Regions from separate parts of the Homo sapiens genome. Here region 1 is linked to region 2. Evidence: promoter capture Hi-C in human tissues and cell types (Jung and others, 2019). All regions are on one chromosome and are shown on one strand. The core of a region is centred on a gene start or on the middle of the fragment in contact, and the rest is flanking DNA. Distances in the headings are between cores, read along the strand shown.

Evidence for each region. Contacts are between HindIII fragments. The study calls those that stand out against the background at their distance.
Region 1: a fragment that was not itself captured here is called in contact with the fragment with the promoter of FAM219A in region 2 in 1 of the 25 tissues and cell types used here (spleen).

Annotation. Positions count from the first base shown.
Region 1 is chr9:35,637,019-35,640,123 of GRCh38, forward strand. It overlaps a transcript of CD72 not described here. Among named protein-coding and RNA genes, the nearest start is that of SIT1, 12 kb to the right of the region's middle. The HindIII fragment of the contact is 4,615 bases long and covers 1-3,105 here.
Region 2 is chr9:34,457,308-34,460,007 of GRCh38, forward strand. It overlaps FAM219A (family with sequence similarity 219 member A), which reads right to left and starts at 1,263. Exons shown (of 6, transcript NM_001184940.2): 1 at 897-1,263. The coding sequence starts at 956. DNAI1 (dynein axonemal intermediate chain 1) reads left to right here and starts at 1,498. Exons shown (of 20, transcript NM_012144.4): 1 at 1,498-1,746. The coding sequence starts at 1,699. RefSeq lists a silencer at 935-1,184 and enhancers at 1,061-1,601, 1,164-1,458, 1,555-1,624. The HindIII fragment of the contact is 10,660 bases long and covers 1-2,700 here.

The DNA.
Region 1 (3,105 bases), core at 509-3,008, 1.2 Mb after region 2:
CACCCTTGCGATAAGTACTTTGTGATATTCCCCCACCCTTGTGAATGTACTTTGTACGATACACCCTCCCCACCCTTAAGAAGGTACTTTGTAATATTCTCCCCACGCTTGAGAACGTACTTTGTAAGAAGATCTACCCCCTGCCCGCAAAAAATTGCTCCTAACTCTATCGCCTATCCCAAAACTATAAAAACTAATGATAATCCCATCACCCTTTGCTGACTCTCTATTCGGACTCAGCCCGCCTGCACCCAGGTGAAATAAACAGCCTTATTGCTCACACAAAGCCTGTTTGGTGGTCTCTTCACACAGACGTGCATGGCATTTGGTGCTGAAGACCCGGGACAGGAGGACTCCTTCGGGAGGCGGGTCCCCTGTCCTCGCCCTAACTCTGTGAGGAGATCCACCTACAACCTCGGGTCCTCAGACCAACCAGCCCAAGGAACATCTCACCAATTTCAAATTGGGTAAGCGGTCTTTTCACTCTCTTCTCCAGCCTCTCTTGCTACCCTTCAATCTCCCTCTCTTGCTACCCTTCAATCTCCCTGTCCTTCCAATTCCAGTTCTTTTTCCTCTCTAGTAGAGACAAAGGAGACACATTTTATCTGTGGACCCAAAACTCCGGCGCTGGTCATGGACTCAGGAAGACAGCCTTCCCTTGGTGTCTAATCACTGCGGGGATGCCTGCCTGATTATTCACCCACATTTCATTGGTGTCTGATCACCACGGGGATGCCTGCCTTGGTCATTCACCCACATTCCCTTGGTGGCAAGTCAATTGTGGGGACGCCTGCTTTGGCTGCTCACCCACATTGCAGCCCAGGGCTGCTCATCACCCCCTGCTCCGTGTCTCTACCTTTCTCTTTAAACTTACCTCCTTCACTATGGGCAACCTTCCACCCTCGATTCCCCCATCTTTTCCCTTAGCCTGTGTTCTTGAAAACCCCTTCAACTCACACCTGACCTAAAACCTAAATGCCTTATTTTCTTCTGCAATACCACTTGGCCCCAATACAAACTCGAAAATAGTTCCAAGTGGCCAGAGAACGGCACTGTCAATTTGTCTATCCTACAAGACCTAGATAATTTTTGTCGAAAAATGGGCAAATGGTCGGAGGTGCCGTACATCCGGGCGTCTTTCACACTTCATTCTCTCCCTAGTCTCTGTTCCCAATGCGACTTGTCCCAAATCCTCCTTCTTTCCCTCCCACCTGTCCCTTCAGTCCCAACCCCAAGTGTTGCTGGGTCTTTTGAATCTTCCTTTTCTACCGACCCATCTGACCTCTCCCCTCCTCCCCAGACTGCTCCTCCTCAGGTCGCTCCCCACCAGGCTGAATCAGGCTCCAGCTCCTCTTCAGCCTCCGCTCCCCCACCCTATAACCCTTCTATCACCTCCCCTCCTCACACCCAGTCTGGCTTACAGTTTTGTTCTGCGACTAGCTCTCCCCCACCTGCCCAACAATTTCCTCTTAGAGAAGTGGCTGGAGCTGAAGGCATAGTCTGGGTACATGCGCCTTTTTCTGTATCAGACTTTTCCCAAATCAGCCAGTGTTTGGGCTCTTTCTCATCAGACCCCGCTAAATATATACAGGAATTCCGATATCTAACTCTGTCCTGCAAGTTAACCTGCAGTGACTTAAATGTCATCCTGACTTCCACCCTCTCCCCAGATGAACAGGAAAGAGTTTTTTCTCTAGCCCAGTCTCACGCTGACAACCGCTGGCTTCATGAGCCAGGCCTCCAGGAAGGCATCAGAGCAGTTCCCCGAGAGGACCCCCAAAGGAACTATCAGGCAGATTCCCCAGGTATAGCTAGGCGAGATTACATGATTTCCTGCCTAGTTGAAGGGCTTAAAAAGGCAGCACACAAAGCTGTTAATTCTGACAAGCTAAAGGAAACTACCCAAGGTAAAGGCGAAAACCCAGCCCAGTTCCTGGCCCGCTTGGCAGCAACCCTTAGACGCTTTACCGCCCTAGACCCAGAGGGGCCGGAAGGCCGCCTTATTCTTTTTTTTTTTTTTTAGATGTATTTTACTTTTATTTTTTTAATCTTTGGGCACAAAGATTTGACACATTATTTCAAAAGAATACAACTACTCATCCAGTAGGAATAAATTCAACAAACATTAATTGATGAGCAAAGTACTGGCTTTAAAAAAATAAACTAAGTAAATTTTTTTTCCCTTGGGTAATAAAATAATAATAAAAGAAGAGACATTGGGTTAAGCACCCTTAGGGCAAAATAAAAATGCAATTGGTTTCTCAAAAACTTGCTTTTGACATCTCAAAAAAAGTCATGCTAGGGAAATGAGCTAAGAAAGCACATTGTTATTTGTACGTGGTAGTGTGACATCCTTGCCATGTTGAAGGTAAGACCATCTAAAGGTCAAGACAGTACACAGAGACTATAAAAACAAAATTGAAATAAAAAGCAGGATAATAAAATGAAAGGAAAAGTAGAAACTGCCAGAAAGAAGCAGAAGCAGCACAACTGTCAAGGAGACAGTGTAAATTCAGATGCCATCAAGCTTTACCACAAAGAGATAAAGGAAAAGGCCAATTTTGATGACAAATGACAAAGTGTAACATCCAAAGAGAAATGGAGAAAAAAGAGGTCATCTGTCCTCCTGTGAACATTTGAATAGTTCTCAGATACACTTAGTTTGAGCAGAATTATGTGATTACTGAGTTCTTCCCTCTCTGCTTGGCAAAAATGATGGAAGTCTTGTCTCCAATTTTAACCCTATTTGCCTTTTTGCAACAATATGGCAGGTTGTTTACATGCTGGCTGGGGAAAGGGAAACTAAGAGTAAAAACCAACCAGTTGTTACTTTGCAAAATGGAAATGTAACTCTGAGGATTAAGCAATCTTGACTGCTAACAAAATTAATTCCTGAACACCATGAAAAAGGAAAAAATACATAGAAATTGATATTTTAAACGTTAAATATTCAGCAGTTTCTCTTATTTGGCAAAATCTTTTTGAAGCAAAGCTGATCTCATTTTGGTTTAGATCACATCAAAGAATTTCCACCAAAAATGACTGAATTATTGCTATTTACTAAAATGGTTTTCATTCTGTGACATTTTTCTGTTTCAACCAAAA
Region 2 (2,700 bases), core at 13-2,512:
GCCAGCAAGCATGGTCTCCCTTAGGCCTAGCCTCGGTGCACCCGAGTTGCCCTCCCCCTTCCATTCCCTCCGCGCCAGCAGCGATGACATCATTCCTCCCTGACTCCGGGACCGCGGACAGGCGGCAGGATCCGCGCCCAGCAAGGACTTCAGGCACGTAGGCCTAAGATGATGGGGGCTCTTCCCAACCAGTGCGCACAGGCAGCTCCAGCGCGACCCCACTTCCTCTCCCGTCGGTTCCCGAGCACTCTCATCTGCACCCCGATTCCCCATCTGGTCGCCGCGCACTCTCCTTCCCGGTTTAGATGCCCCCAGCCTGGTCTGCCTGCGCTCCCCACCGGAGAACGGAATTCCCAGGTTCTGCACCAACCACCTTCCCCCACTGGGTCCCTCGCCCCGGCCCAGCGTTCCTGTCCGTATATCCAGCGGACAGGCGGGCAAGCCCCTCCTCTTCTAAAAGCTGATTCCCAATCTCTCTTAGCCTGACGGCTCCCCCGCCCTAAGCATCACAGGCCTCTAGGACTAAACGCCTCCCCACCTCCCATCCCAGACCCCTGGGCCTGCCGCCGGCGGTGCCCCATGGCAGTTCCCTCGCCAGTCCCTGCTATGGGCCTCCACTAGCGGTGTGCACCTTTGTGCCCCCTCCGTTCCATCCGACGGTGCCCTGCTTCCACCGACGGTGCCCTCCGCCCTTACAGGTCCCTTTGCTCTCATCCAGCATATTCTCCCACGGTTTTCTTGTCCTGCAAGTCCCCGTCCCCCGGCAATACGTTTTCAGGGATCTCTTTGCCCCATCCGATGGCGCCCCTCCGCACGATCCCCCCGGCCTGATTCCCTCCCTCCCCCTCAAGCGACGCCCCCTCCGGCCTTGGCCTGCCCGCCGCCCGCCCCCTCACCAGCGGCTGCATCTCCGAGTGCGCGGTGGGCACCTGGAACCGGTCGATCTCCTCCATCATGGTGCCGGCGGGCGAGCGGGCCAGGGGCCGGGCGCGGCCGCGGACGCCGACAGGACCGCGCGGGGCGGCGGCCCCAGGAGCCCGGCGGGTGGTGCAGACTAGGCCTCCCCGGACCACTCGGGCGGGCAGGGGCCGGGCGGATGCAGGGGTGGGCGGGGGCGAGAGGTTCGCAGACTGGCTGAGGCCGGCGTGACTCCGTGGGCTTGCCTAGCACTACCGCGGCTGTGGCCGGGCCGAGCCGCAGGTCTTGCCTCGCCTCCTACTCCGCTGCCGCCTCCTGTCAGCAGCTCAGCCACTGCGGTGACTCGGCAACTCCACTTCCGGGTCCGGGACACCGCCCGGATCTTGCATTATTCATGAGGAGGCGGTGCCTGGGGACCCCAGCCCCACCCACATGCGGGAGTTCCGAATGCGCGCGGCCGCCCAGCTGTGATTCCTGAGGGGGCGGGGCTTAGTGGAGACTCGCTCGCCGCGCGCCCAACCCCGCCTCCTTTCCGGGCCGGCTGGGCGCGCCGAAGCGCCTGCGCCTTGGCTGCTGGTCGGTTGCTGGGTAACCGCGTCAGGGAGTTGGATTCTATCCTGCAAGGGCACGGGGACCCACAACGACGGCTGTCCCTAAAGAACCGTTGCGACTGGTAACTGAAGTGGAAGAGAGTCCAGATTTCTTGTGTGTGGTCAAGGAGACGGACAAACTTTTTGTCTTCAGACGAGGGAGCGTTTTGTAGGCTCTCCAGGGGTTGAGATGATTCCTGCTTCTGCGAAGGCTCCCCATAAACAGCCTCATAAGCAGGTAACGTACGCACACCTTCCTTCTGATGACCTCTGACCTTCGTCGTCGCCAGTGACCACTAATCATACCTCTCCTACTGATCCTTGATCTTTTCTCTGTTGACCCCAGCCTTCTCACCCCCGTGACCTCTGGTAAGTGCTCCCACTGACCTCTGACTCTGTCCTACTCTTTCCCACTAATCCCGGCCTCCTCTCCCATACTACCCCAATCCACCGTTTCTTACCTCTCTCCTTTTATCCACCATTCCCATCTCTTCACTTCACTTTACCCCATGGACTCATTCTGACCAGTCTATTCTCCTTAACTTCCCCATCCCCATTCCCACGAGTCCCTTCCTCCTTGTTCTCACATTCTTGTCCCAAAGGAATTTTTCTTTTTCTTTTTCTTTCTTTCTTTCTTTTTTTTTTTTTGAGACAGAGGCTCGCCCTGTAGCCCAGGCTAGAATGCAGTGGCGCCATCTCAGCTCTCTGTAACCTCTGCCTCCTGGGTGCAAGCGATTCTCCCACTTCAGCCTGACGAATAGCTGGAACCAAAGGCATAGGCCACCACGCCCGGCTAAATTTTGTGTTTTTGGTAGAGACGGGGTTTCCCCATGTTGCCCAGGCCCGTCTCTAACTCCTGAGCTCAAGCGATCCTCCTACCTTGACCTTCCGAAGTGCTGGGATTACAGGCGTGAGCCACGGCGCCCAGCCTCAAAGGCATTCTTTATCCAACCCTTTGCTGTGTGCCTAGCTCCAGGCTAGGTGGGAACACAGCTCTTGCTGTTTGGGAGCCCACAGAGGGTGTGCAAGAGAACTAAACAGAATACAGGACAGGCTATGTGCAGGAGTGTGATTTTATTTTCTGTGCTGGGAGATTTATGAGGAGAGAAAGGGCAGGCAAAGAGGAAGAGGAGAGAGGCCCTTTTCTCATCCCTGTCCTCACCCCCACAGTGCACAACCCAAACACTCTGCC